3 separate regions of the Homo sapiens genome follow, and all the other regions are linked to region 3. Evidence: promoter capture Hi-C in 16 types of primary human blood cells and fetal thymus (Javierre and others, 2016). All regions are on one chromosome and are shown on one strand. Each heading gives the region's core, a stretch centred on a gene start or on the middle of the fragment in contact. The rest is flanking DNA. Distances are from core to core; before and after follow the strand shown.

Evidence for each region. Contacts are between HindIII fragments. The CHiCAGO score rates a contact against its expected background, and 5 or more counts as called.
Region 1: a fragment that was not itself captured here is called in contact with the fragment with the promoter of FN1 in region 3 in 3 of 17 cell types (endothelial precursors, M1 macrophages and M2 macrophages); the score reaches 8.7 in endothelial precursors.
Region 2: a fragment that was not itself captured here is called in contact with the fragment with the promoter of FN1 in region 3 in 2 of 17 cell types (endothelial precursors and M1 macrophages); the score reaches 6.4 in endothelial precursors.

Annotation. Positions count from the first base shown.
Region 1 is chr2:215,719,389-215,723,784 of GRCh38, forward strand. The region is part of intron 5 of LINC00607 (long intergenic non-protein coding RNA 607); the gene reads right to left. LINC01614 (long intergenic non-protein coding RNA 1614) reads left to right here. Exons shown (of 2, transcript NR_132383.1): 2 at 1-1,558. Among named protein-coding and RNA genes, the nearest start is that of LINC01614, 3.5 kb to the left of the region's middle. The HindIII fragment of the contact is 5,386 bases long and covers 1-4,396 here.
Region 2 is chr2:215,736,791-215,741,474 of GRCh38, forward strand. It overlaps LINC00607 (long intergenic non-protein coding RNA 607), which reads right to left. Exons shown (of 10, transcript NR_037195.1): 5 at 4,087-4,231. Among named protein-coding and RNA genes, the nearest start is that of LINC01614, 21 kb to the left of the region's middle. The HindIII fragment of the contact is 5,311 bases long and covers 1-4,684 here.
Region 3 is chr2:215,433,816-215,438,730 of GRCh38, forward strand. It overlaps FN1 (fibronectin 1), which reads right to left and starts at 2,253. Exons shown (of 46, transcript NM_212482.4): 1 at 1,840-2,253; 2 at 881-1,009. The coding sequence starts at 1,987. It overlaps FN1-DT (FN1 divergent transcript), which reads left to right and starts at 1,876. Exons shown (of 2, transcript NR_187198.1): 1 at 1,876-2,494; 2 at 3,104-4,915. RefSeq lists an enhancer at 1-764 and silencers at 2,277-2,336, 2,347-2,436. The HindIII fragment of the contact is 4,490 bases long and covers 1-4,179 here.

The DNA.
Region 1 (4,396 bases), core at 1,214-3,713, 290 kb after region 3:
GAATTGACATGCACATCACAATTGTATACACAACAGAAATTATTGAATCATGAGATATACATTCCGGTGTGTGACAGATTGGCACATGACATAATCTGGGTTCTTTATAGACTCAGTTGTTTTGGGGCGATCTAGATTATCAAGAGAAGAGCCTTCATGCTTAGCTTTATCTTGTACCAACCACCAGGGCCCTTGCTTCTGAGCAGGAAGCAGCTGGGGAATAGGCTCTTTCTCTTAATGACTTCCAACATAGTTCTCTCAAACCTTACTCCTCCAGAAGGCCACCCTCACCTGGCTATGGCTACTTCAGAAAAAACTTGGCCTCTGGTATAATAGAGCAGAATCACCACCTCACATTCTATTTCAAGCCAAAGTCAATATCTCAAAGGCTGGTTCTGTGATTTATTTGGCCCTTGGGAGCTCCTACTGAAAGTGCTGAAATGTCGTACTGACACTTCAGACTTATAGCTACCTAGACTCCAAGTAAGATTTATCTCTGACTGGAGGGTTTCTCCTATTAAAAACCAAAGAGTGTAGGGTGCCTTCACCTGCTAGGTAATCTTCTATGCCCTAATGGGAAGAATGGGAGCAGCAGACAAGTAAGTTCAGGAAGGAGAACCAAAGCTGTGTCCATGCCCTTGAGGAAAGAGAAATTGGACCAGACAAGTTCAGTGGAAACTTTCTAATGGATCCATCAACTTCATCTTGTCTAAGCAGAGTCATAGCTAGAAGTGTGACTGAAATAGGAGAACCACGTCCAGGGGTTCAGGGGGGATTCCTCTGAAATCGCAGCTGGAAGCATTTCGTAATAGTTCTGGTACTGCACCCATAGATACTGTCACCTCTACTCTTTCTTCCAATCACCATTAGCAGATGCCACAGGATTCCTACTTCTGAAAGTTTTTGGGCCCTGCAGGTGGAAGACTGGAGAAGCCAATAAAGTTTAAGGCTACATTTTATTCCATCCACAAATTTGGTGAAGGAGGAAATGTTTACAATTCTGCCATGCCATGAATAGGAGTTTTCCACCGGGTGTACACTGCTGTTAACAAGGTGTAAATACTTGTCCAGTAAAGAGACCGTACGGTACTGCTGATGGACGTCCCAACACAATGCCAGATGCAAAAACTTCTTTGGTGATTGCTTTTGATAACACTGAGTGGCTAAAGGTCTTCTTTCACATCTTTGCCCACCTCAAATCCTGAAGGCAAGGTCTCTGGAATTTGAGGCTGTGCCCTCACATGCCTCCAAGGCACCAACAAAGCAAAATGAAGAGTCTGCACTGCTTATCAGTTGACCCAACACTCAGTCCACATTGGAGGGGAAGGGGTGGTGGGCTGAGGATGTCTTCTTCCTGTCCAGGATGCAATATGGTCAAGGATGAAAGGAAAGAGATGCTGGGAGCAAGTCTGCATTGAAGATGTATTTCTGTTGCTTTACTACCAACCCTGGTTATAAATGATGAAACTATAATGGGTCTGTAATAGCTACTTTCCCATATAGCTCTTGTCTGTACATACATAAAATTAAAAATAATAGAATACTTCCATTACTAACATGTGGTGACAAGCATTCTTCATTTACCATTTTTATTCCAAAAACATGATTTAACATTTTAAAAACCAAGATCTGTTCGGTAAATCAGATAATAGGGTAAACTATAGTTTACCCTATCTTACAGCCAGTTAGATAAATGATTATTGTGAAAAGAAAATTGTTAGCATTGTAAATAATGCTTCTTATATGAATACTAAACAGTCTATTGGAAAACACCATGGTTGTTGGTTTAGAATCAGCTTCTTTGGCTGGGCACCGTGGCTCACATCTGTAATCCCAACACTTTGAGAGGACAAAGCGGGTGGATCACCTGAGGTCAGGAGTTCGAGACCAGCCTGACCAACATGGTGAAACCCTGTCTCTACTAAAAATACAAAATTAGCCACGCGTGGTGGCACATGCCTCTAATCCCAGCTACTCGGGAGGCTGAGGCAGGAGAATTGCTTGAACCTGGGAGGCAGAGGTTGCAGATCACACCATTGCACTCCAGCCTGGGCAACAAGAGTGGGCATTTTTAGGTTGGTTCCAAGTCTTTGCTATTGTGTGTGTGTGTGTGTGTGTGTATATATATATAGATCATCATATATATATATATATAGATCATATATATATATAGATCATATATATATGATCTATATATATACACACACACACACACACACACACAATAGCAAAGACTTGGAACCAACCTAAAAATGCCCATCAATGATAGATTGGATAAAGAAAATGTGGCACATACAGACCATGGAATACTATGCAGCCATAAAAAAGAATGAGTTCATGTCCTTTGCAGGGACATGGATGAAGCCAGAAGCTATCATTCTTAGCAAACTAACACAGGAACAGAAAAGCAAACACTGCATGTTCTCACTCATAAGTGGGAGTTGAACAATGAGAACACATGGAAACATGGAGAGGAACATCACACAATGGGGCCTGTCAGGGAGTCGGGGGAGGGAGAGCATCAGGGCAAATATCTAATGCATGCAGGGCTTAAAACCTAGATGACGGGTTGATAGGTGCAGCAAATGACATGGCACATGTGTACCTATGTAACAAACCTGCATGTTCCGCACATGTATCCCAGAACTTAAAGTAAAATAAAAATGTTTTAAAATAAAAATTAAAAAATAATAGAATCAGCTTTTTCAAATCCATAATATTTGGATTTTATTTTTGCCTGAAACTTTCTTAGTCAATAATAATTCAGTTTTTACCATGCTTTAAAAGGGACTCCATTACAAACTCTCTTAGAGTCTTCCTTATGCCTTACATGGCATAGTGAGTCAGTGATTTTTTTTTTCTTCCATGGCGTTAGAGAAGAGGCTAAGGGAAAGTATCTGTAACTTTTCACGGCAGCATCTTTAACCTTCTGCTAAATCCTGGGCTGCCAGCTGGCAAGGCCTAGTACTCTTCAGTCCTGCAAAGAATCACGTATGTGTCACTGAAGGTAGACTTAAGTTCTTCTGTTTTAACCTGAATCATCTGCAGAAGCAAACAGCAAAGTGCATCACCCCTGTTAAAGCGGCTGGCAGTACGAGCCACAAGGTAAAAATTATGAAGAAGTGTCCCTCTTTGTCCCTTCACCGAGAACATAGCGTCCAATGCTGTTTCCAAAGCTCCTTAGCCACCTCCACTTCTGTCCCCTTTCAAAGGATCTTCCAAACCACCCCCAACCCAGGTCTGGATTTAGATCTGCTCTTTCTGTACAGCAGCTCATGTTCCAAACCAGTAATTCATAGATATGATTCATTTGATTACAACCTTCACTATTTTTACCCATAATACTTCTACTGTTATTTCCTAATATAATACCTTAATATCACTACTATAATTAAAATTCTAATATAACTTTTCATAATTAAAAGGTAACCATACAAATAAACTGAATAAAAAATAATGCCATTAAAATTTAAGCGGATACTATTGCCTGCTAAAAGCTCTGAGCCTAAGGCCTGTTTCTGTTTTTTTTAAAAGGGTGGTTAATATGTGCTACGTTAAAGATGCACTCACATCAAATTGAGACTTCTCTTAATCTATTCAGAAGGACTGAAAGAGAAGGCAAAAGAAAATCTCTCATCTTGTGTGATTCCATTTTAGTTAACACCACATTGGTTTTATTAAACCCCACTCAAGATCATCTTAGATTTAGAATCATCTTGTGAGTCCTAGTTTATGGGAAACAAGATAAGCCAGCATTTCTCAAAATGTGGGTTTTGGACAGTCTGCAAGAGATAACCTAGCACCAGATTAACATGCAAATCCCCTGGCTTCTGAGACTTCTGAGATAGGTCTTAGGAAATCTGTATTTTTAACACATTTCTCAGGTATTACTTATACACACAAATATTTGAAAACCATGAGTCCAGATTTGTCGTTTTCAAACATTAGCCAAGGGATCCTTTCTTCCAATAAAATCCTTCACAGAAACTAAGATAAAAAGCAGGTAAGAATAGAGTCCTCTAGTTGAATCAGGAAGGTGGGGCAGAGAGCAGAGTTGTGATTTCACCTTCTCATGACCCTTCTCATGGCATACGGACATTTCTCATGGTAAAATAAAATAGTTAATTAACATACTAGAAAATATTCAGCCTCATAATAATCAAATGCAAACAAAATAAAAGATAAGATCTTATTTTTTTACTCATAAATTAGCAAAGGTATTTTGAATGATAGTGTAAATAAGGACTAACTAGAATGTTATAACCAATATTCTTATATGCAGAAAAGCAAATGAGTACCACCTTTCTGGATGTACTTTAAAATATTTATGTTTTCTTTTAATGCAATACTCTACTCTCTATGAATTTATTATGCAGAAATGGTGTGAAATTCAGGC
Region 2 (4,684 bases), core at 1,091-3,590, 300 kb after region 3:
GGGCAACTGATTTTCCTTACTCTCCAAGTCCCATTGTACTAGAGGCTAAAGGCGAGATATTCCCAGTCTGGCCTCCAGGGTCACCTTCAGGTCTGTCAAAAATACCTCCTGCTGGTGACCAGAAAGGCTGCAAAGCCGGTCATTTTTAAAAAGAACATATTGCAGATCACCCACGTAGAAAATCAAACTTGGGGGCAAGCCTCATGGTTAACAACATTTATATTGACCCCACTTAAAATATTTTATTACATACTTCTGATAAAAAAGCAACGTCTGCCTATGAGCTGGAGTTTTAGTAAACATCCTCCCTTTTTGAAGTGTGTCTTTAAAATAGTCATCCTAAGCAAAACTGAGAACTCCCTACCCTCTGTGACTCAAGTCTTAGGCAATCCTCAGATTCTCTTTCCCAGTTCTCCCAATTAAGTCCTGGGTGATTCCTGCTATCAGAATTTTATGTCATTATTGTCAAACTTGAGTAATGTATACCCTGTTTTTGGAGGAAAAATATTCTTCTGAGCCCCTAATGTTGATGAATTACTTTCATTAGAATGTTACTTTAAAAATATATACAAATGTAAAACTAGATATAAACTCATTATGCTAAACAACTGTAATACCAAAACAAATTTACAAATTAGAAACAAAACTACCAAACCAATACAGTTCAAATTAACAAGATTAATTTAATGTGACAATTAGTATTGTTTTGCTAAAATTGTATTGCAGTTAGAAACGATTGGCTTCCTGTTAGGTTCAGGCAATTGTAAGCACTTAGAGACGTATTGGAGGGCTGGGGAAAGGAAAAGTCAGGATATTTGCTCCCTCCCTTTTCTGGTTCTAGTCTAGCAAAGAAGCTCCTCCCTCCCTGATCCCACCTGGCTCCGGAAGGCAGCTTTTGCCATGGTTACTGACTGCATCCAGAAGCCCTGGTTTCCTGCCTCTGCTCATACTATCTCCTCCCCAGATGCCTCCTGGTACTGATCTGCTGCTGCCACTAACCTCTCTTTTGCCCCTCCATTCCCTGTTTGATTTCTTCCTCTCTTCCAATACCATTGTGATATGGTTTGGATTTGTGTCCCTGACCAAATTTCATGTCGAATTATAATCCCCAGTGTTGGAGGAGGGGCCTGGTGGGAGGTGTTTAGATCATGGGCGGGGGGGGGGGGCAGGGGGGATTTCCCCCTTGCTGTTCTCATGATAGTGAGTGAGTTCTCATGAGATCTAGTTGTTTAAAGGTGTGCAACACCTCTCCCTGCTCTCTCTTCCTCCTGCTCCAGGCATGTAGGACGTGCCAGCTTCCCCTTTGCCTTCCGCCATGGTTGTAAGTTTCCTGAGGCCTCTCCAGTCATGTTATCTCTACAGCCTGCAGAACCATGAGCCAATCAAACCTCTTTTCTTTACAAATTACCCAGTCGCAGGTAATTCTTTATAGCAATGCAAGAACAGACTAATACGCATTGTTTTTTACTAGTTTCCAATAATAAATTCCCTTTATTAAACCACTATTCTTATCATACTCTTTTCCTGACTGACCCCACAGATACACAGGTTATATGTAAGAGTGGAAAGAGATGGAGAGCAATCAGATTTCTTCCTTCATCCATGTGTATTTATGCCAATTGTTGTACTTTTAACTTCCCTCTTTTTTACACTTCAAAGTGCCAAGAATAAACCAAAAAGAGGAATCTCCCCAAAAGTGTATACATTTGTTTTATGTAGAAACCATTTTTGTTCCCTAAATTTCCTGTGGCTCCATATGTCATCAGAAGGGATTCAACAGGAAAGCATCTGTATCACAAAGGGGAAGCACACCCAAACAATGGATGAGTTCTGTCTGCAGATTCCAATTTGAGAAGTATGGCTGAGCAACCTTAGATATATCATCCCCAAAGCAACTAATAACTTAAAAGGGAAATCCGAATATTCATTTCCCTTGAAAAAATGGTGAACGAATTGAGGTAACCAATTCTTTTTTTTTTTTCTTCCTAGAGTTCTTTTAACATTACACGATTTTTCAACATTTTTCTTTACTGAGTTGCACCACCAGATAGACAAGGAAGAAGTTAATGTCCACACTTGAATATGAAAAAGGGAGAGAGGAATTTTAAATCAGGAAGTATGTCTTTAAAGGAACAGCATGAGAGTAAATAATTTATGATAGAACGACCAATATTTCTTCTATCAAATGCCAAGTTTCTTACTTTCTCTAATGGTAGCTTTTACGTTATATAGGTACCAGCTCCTACTTTTATCAGTTCTCAAGGCCATGAATATTTAATGGGTTGGGAAAAGTATGGCTCCTCCTAAGAGTCTGAGAGAAAGAGAGCCAGCATGTTTAATGTTTATTACAGAAATTAACTGACGGCAGGACATTCCTTGCAGGTCTTCAAACCAGCAAAACATGGGAGGTTAAGTTGATGCCAGGCTCCACTCCAGACAATTAAGACAGGAATCTCTGGTGGAAATCTCTGGGGGTGGGTTTCAGGCATTAGAATTTTTAAAAATTTTCCCACGTTATTCTAACGAAGCCACTAGCCTCAGCCAAGCATTAAAACTTACCTTGGATACTACCTTTTTATTGGATTCCATTTTTTTCCTCATAAGAGTTTGTCCATTTCTCCCCCTCATTCTTTATTATTTTGAATGACATTGACATAAGTGATACTAGAGCTATAATCAACTTGAGATTTTGTTTTACCTGCCACTTGATAAAAGAAAACAGACAAGGAAAAATACGAGTCCTTTTAGGGGTAGGGGGTGGTGATTATAGTGATGCCTGCCAGAATCCTCAGATAGCTGAACTGTGTGACTTTCACCTCAAAAGTCACTATCAAGGGACCGTGTATCAAATCCACTGTCCATTGGTCATTCATTTTGTGTAGTCCTTTTTCTCAATATCTTCAGGCTGTTAGCACATGGTATCAGACACAACCTGTCAATCCTCATCACATTAGAAATGTCCCAGTTCACAGTTCTCCAGAGCCCATGGCTCTTATAGGGTTGAAATCTCAGCACTCATTATAGCAACACCACATTGTATGTATATATCTCCCAAGACAAACACCTCACAAAGAATAAACAATGGCTTAGCCTGGGGATCCCCTAAACATGCTTGATAGTACACCTAATAGAAGTTTAAATAAGGGTTTAACATTTTCCCCATGATCCAATGGATCATCTTGCACCTCCCCTGAGGTGCTCACACCTCACTCCAGAGACCACTGAGCCAGTCTACTGGATAATGCTGCCTGACAAACAATTATTACTGTTGTGCTTTGAGTTGTCCCTGAATCTAAATATTAGAGCAGAAATTGTAAATGAGAGTCGTTCAACAATGCAAACAAGGTAAACAGAAAATTCTTCATCATCACCCATGAGTTACTTGATGAAAAATTCGAACGGAATTTTGTGTTAGTACCAAACGTTTCCTGTTACCATCAGGGCTAGGACTCTAGGACTTCCCAGGCTCCAGTCTGATCCTCTGAACAATTTTACTCAAATCACTTTTTGAACTGTTTATAGCTATTTTCATCATTGTTTCAGTGGTCACTCTAAACCAAAAAACGACCTCTAGGTTTTCTTGCTCAAGTGCTACATTCTTCAAAAGAACGCACTAGTAAAGTTCTGGCCATAATTTCAAAGCAGATTTTCTCTCTACAATAAATAGGTGTGCTTAAAATATAAAATGTTCTCAGTGAGGCATCCTTTATGAAAAAATGCAGTATAGCAGGACTTAGGCAAGTGAATTGATTCTGAAAAACTAAAAAGAGGCACAGGAAAATTTCATCAAGGTCACTGAAAGGGGGGAAATGAGCTGAAATGAGCAAGTACAGAGATTTGAGTCATGACAATTAAATAATCACAGAGTTTGATCCTGGTTTTGCAGCGGAGGAAACTAATCTGCCCAAGGTCATGCTCTAGTTTAATGGCAGAACGGAAAACATCCGCAGACTCCTAGCTCCCTGTCCCTTCTTTTGGTCTATAGTATAATTACTTCCTTAATTACTTATCTTCCATTCTCTTTTCTATCAGCCTTAGATAAGAAAGCCAAGACATTTCTTTGGTTGCCTTGTAAATCATCCTTACTTCACAAAGACTCATGCCTCCCCCTTGGGTGTTTCTTTTTCCTGTGGTCTTCCCATAGGAGAAGGCTCTGTATTCCCAACTGCAGGGTTCCTGTCTGCCTCGTTGGAGAGTCCTTTCATCACTGCAGTGCGTGGGCTGCCTGTCTCTAAAAATAAGATTCCATTTATTTGTTTGGTACAGGGAAAATCAATTATGGTACAGTTCTCACTGTGGAGATATTCTCAGACAATATTTTAACTGACTCCCAAGTTCTATTTTAAAAGCATCATAACCACACAAGCACAGAATTCTGGAGATTAATAAGTCTGCAGAGTTCATCCAATGTGGTTCCTTACCATTTGGGGATCATAAAACCCTTTGAAAAATATGATGACAGCTACAGAAACTCTCCCCAGAAAAAAAATATACATACAAAGATATATATGAAGACATATATACAAAATTCATACAAAAACATGCAATGTTGTTCACTGGCCAGGAGGCTAGTCCCTGGATCCCTGGGTTAAATAGCCCTTTGTTGACTGAGAAGGAACCTAAATCCCTACGAGGAAAATTAATTTACTGAGCACAGAGCTAGTTAGTGGAAGAAATAGTACTA
Region 3 (4,915 bases), core at 1,003-3,502:
GATTGGCCGGGCACAGTGGCTCACGCCTGTAATCCCAGCACTTTGGGAGGCTGAGGCGGGTGGATCACCTGAGGTCAGGAATTCGAGACCACCCTGACCAATACGGTGAAACCCCGTCTCTACTAAAAATATGAAAATTAGCTGGGTGTGGTGGCATGTGCCTGTAGTCCCAGCTACTCAGGAGGCTGAGGCAGGAGAATTGCTTGAACCCTGGAGGCAGAGGTTGCAGTGAGCTGAGATAGTGCTACTGCACTCCAGCCTGGTGACAGAGCAAGACTCTGTCTCAAAAACAAAACAAAACAAAAACAAACAAACAATTCGAAGATCCCCACCTCCCACAAGGCCTTGACAGTTGTTAATCCTATGATTTCCATTTTCCCCTGATCAGTGCTTCTCTGACAGAGTTGCTATAATTTATGAGAAAAATATCATTGGTCCTAAAGGAATGAGAACTTTGAAGTGGCTAATGGTTTTGTGTTAACTGCCGCTGACAAATCATTTTACGATGTAAGTCCCCAAAGTGTTTTCTGGCTCATAAACTAACAGTTTAAGATTTGAGACTGCTTTCTAATAAATTAAAATTTTATAAGCAATTTTTTTTGTCGGAGGACACACAAAATCTTTCATTTTTCTCATCAAAAACTTTGGGAGAGTAAAGCAAAAAGAAGACTCTAGGAACTAATTTGGGAAAGATTCGTTTCTTTGTTTTAAAGGTAAAAGCATGTGAAAAGCAAATATAAGCAGTTTTTAAACTTAAGAGGAAATGACAGGTAATTCTATTAGAAAAATGGTGTATGTATTTTTACTTACTAATGCAAAGTTTAACAATTACCACTTCATGTATTAAAAGATACTAACTATGGGGCTTGTTGTCACTTACCTTCAGGTTTACTCTCGCAGTTAAAACCTCGGCTTCCTCCATAACAAGTACAAACCAACGCATTGCCTAGGTAGGTCCGCTCCCACTGTTGATTTATCTGATAGTGTTTTCCATTGTCATAACAACCGGCTGCAAATAATTGAAGGAAAACGTTACATTTGCATTTCTCCTTTTCCCAAAATTATGGAATTTTCTTCATGTGAATATTGACGTACATATTTTTTTCCTTTTAACTTTGCTAAAAGTTATATACAATGATGTCATTTCCATCTGGCCAGGGGTCTACATAAAAAAGTTGGAAACATTTTGGAAGGCAGACAATTGAAGTCACATTTTTAAAACATGCAAGGAACTTAAATATTCTTTTGGAGTAATAGTCAAAAAGGACAACTTTAAGCAGCTTTCTCAAAGCAAAAGGAGGGTGTGTCTTTGAAAAACGGAAAGAATTCCAACCTCTGTTCTTGGTGAAGTATCCTGAGCGGCCCTAAAGAGGTCTGAACCAATTACATCTCTTCCAAGTTAGTTAGAAACAAGACAGCTATTTCAATACCCCCTTTCCACCCCCATGTTGAAAATATTTGACCAATTATTTAACAGAAGGAAATAAGTAGCAGTAAGGACCACACTAATCCCAGACGGAAAATTTATAGACATGCATCATTTTTCTCTTTAAAGGCAAGTTTTGGTTAATTCCTAGAAGGACAATCTGAACGTGCAGAATTTATTAGAACACGGGAAAGTCGCAGAGTCCTCGTCCTCCAATGCACGGTCTTATCATCCCAGGCCCTCAGAACCAGCGTGCTCAAAACTCGGTCCTTTTGTGTGCACAGCTGGTTTCTCTCAGTAAAGCGCGCACACACTCGCACACACGCGCGCGCACAAAACTTCAGCCCCAACTTTGGTCGGCTTTAGGGTCCCATCCCTGAGGCAGCCTGTTTCAGCCCGCGGTCAGTACTCACGCTTGCTTTGACTGACAGCCACCGGGGACTGGGGCTGAACCATTTGCTGAGCCTGCCTCTTGCTCTTCGAGGCTCCCGTGGAGGGCACCGCTGTCCCCAGGCACTGGACGGCCAGCAGCAGCAGCCCGGGCCCCGGACCCCTAAGCATGTTGAGACGGTGGGGGAGAGACGCCCGCACCGGGAGGCAAGTTGCCACCAAGTTTGCTTCCCTTCGCAACCTGCGGGAAAAATCCCTTCTAATGCCTCCCGGGGGTTGTCGCCTCCAAGAAGGTGGGGGCCAGAGGGTGGGGAAGGGGACGGGTGGAGGGACAGAAGGGATGCAGAGGACCAGAGAAGTTGTGGCTGCAGGTCCCCTCTTCCCGCTCGCGCCTGGGGTTCCCTCTCCTCCCCCTGTGCAGCACAGCCGGCGCGGGCGTCCGAGCGCCGGGAGCCGGGGCTTATATGGGACGGTCCCCTCCCGCCCCTCTGGAGGCCCGGGGCGCGGGGGAGGAGAGACCCGCCGGGCTGTCCCCGCCCCGCCCCACCCCACCCGCCCGCCCGCCCGCCGGCCGCCGCAGCCGACCGCGCGCCGATTGGCCCGGGCTCCGGGTGACGTCACGGGGGACTGTGGGTTCGCAGCGAACAAAAGAGATGCTGATGGCCCGCCAGGACTGGGGCAAGACAACTTTTTTTCGGTTTCCTTTGCGGTCATCAAACTTTTTAGGGGATGGGGGAAGGGATGGGAAGCGGCTGGGAGGAAAGGGAGTGGCTGGACTTGTGTGAAGCGAAGGGGTTGCAAGACGCTCCCCCTTCCCTTTTCTTTTTTATTGGGGGTGGTGGTAGTGTTTGAGGACATTGCGTCACCTCTCTTCGGGGTGGAGGGGGGGAATCTCTGCTTATAGGAGTGTATTTTGTGAGGAAGAAAACCCATAAAATATCCACGACCTTGCAGCTGTTAAGAATCCAGACTTTTCAGTCCCAGGGCGGGGCTGCCTTTCCCCCCATCCCGCTCCCTTTCTTTGGACTAAAGGGTACTGACTCGGGACTCCCTTATTTTGTCTTCACAGCTCCCTGTTCGGACTTCTTCCCTTCTCAGCGCTGTGCCTGTCTGGCTCTGAGAAAGGGCCAGCGGGCGAACGGGGAGCAAAGGGGAACAGAGACCTTTAATGAGCTTCTACTAAGTACCGGGAGTTCCGCGGGGCGCTTTGCAGATCCCGGGGAAGTTCAGAGAATGAAGTTTTCTTTTGCAAGGACAAAGTAACAGTTTACTTTTTTACACATGCAGGAAAGCCTTCCTTTCCTGGGGATGGGACGCCCGTTTCCACTGAAAGTGAAATCACTGTGAACAACCTGAAAATTGGAAAGTTGGACCAGCTGTGGGGAGAGAAAGGTCTTCGTGTCCTTTCCCACGTTCACCGTGCCAGTTACACACAAAGCAGAGATTTTTTTGCTTGAATCATTAAAAGCCGGGTGGGTGGGGGGCACCCTATGTACTGTCTTGCCCTCCTTCGGCCCCTTTCTCACATTTATTTGCCATTTTCTTTTTGCTGACAAGTTCCATTACAGAATGCCCCCTCCATCCCCCGCCGCCAGATTTTTTATATTTCAATTGTTATTTACTCCAAGAGTGTGGAAAGTTCTCCTTTAAGATTCCCCCGCCTTGAACTCTAAACTCAGAGTGGAAAGGGAATCTGAAAAGTCTCTCATTTAGCAACACATCACATCAGTCCTTTTTGTCAGATAAACACAGGCACAATTGCTTTTAAAGATCTTCAGAAGGAGGAGTCCACCACTTCCACAGTAGATCCAGAGAGACCCGAACTGAATGCTTTGCCTTCTCCTTGTGTTAGGAGTTCAGAGGTTCCATTTGCTTTAAAACACAAGAAGCTACTAATAAAATATATTTATTTCGGCAAGGTACCTATTTTCTCCAAAAGTTTCACCTTCAGTAATTGCCACAGGAGTAATTAGAACTCTGTGTTCTATAAAATGCCTGACACATTAAAGACACAAAATTAGCATTTGTTTTTATTCATGCAAGGATTTAAAACCAAACCAAAACAAAGCAAAACACCCAGCAAATATCAGTTTCCTACAAATAGTGTAAAAAAACCTCTTGAGGAATCTTTGTGACCCACACTCCAAATTGAAAGAGTGCCATGGATTTCCCCAAATTTAGAATCCTGTCTGGGTTAGAGGATTTTTTTGGAATTTCTCATCACTTGACAAAACAGTTTTCTCTTTTCAAATATAAAAGAGCTCCTTGTAAAATGCTTGGTAAATTTCTGGGAAGCCGAGTGTTTCTTCCAGAGGGAAGGATACCTGGAAATCCGGATGTAAGCAAGATAAACCTGTAGCTAAAGCTTTCTTAAAATTCATTGATTCTGGGGGAAGGAAATAAGTGATTAGAAAAGTATTTGGTCAACCAAAACCATGATAGTTTGATATATTTACTGCACTGAAAATACACTAGAATCATATGCATAGTGGAGCTTGAAGTGGAAAGCCCACCTTACATTTTGGAAGAAACTTTTATATTTCAATCCCATAGATATCTAATTTATTTAAGGAAACAGGATATCTCTGTCTCATAAGAAAAAAAATAACATCTGACTGATTTTTATAGGAATGCTTGGGAGTTTACTCTTTTACTTGAAAGGTTTTTTTTTTTTTTGCCTTTTTTTTTAAACTTTAGAAACAGAGGCGTTTCTTAGTTAAGATAACAGGGCTTACTACAGTATTCTTTAATTATCAAGGTCCCTTGTAACTCTAAGTCTGTTATCTCTAATTGGAGAGATAATTAAATCTTAAAGACCACTCTGACTCTAATTCAACCAACGTGTGTGGTGTCCAGGATCGTTGGACTTCCTTAAGAATTCTATTTTATCCAGGTGGGTTCTTCCTCAGTAAATTGTATTCTCCTATTGGTAGGAAATACTCTTGGATTTCTTTCTTTCTTTCTTTTTCTTTCTTTCTTTCTTTCTTTCTTTCTTTCTTTCTTTCTTTCTTTTTCCTTCTTTCCTTCTTTCTTTCTAAAACTGTATTCAGAGAGAGAAATGTGACAAAAAAAGGGAAATCAATAGAGACAGAAAGTAGA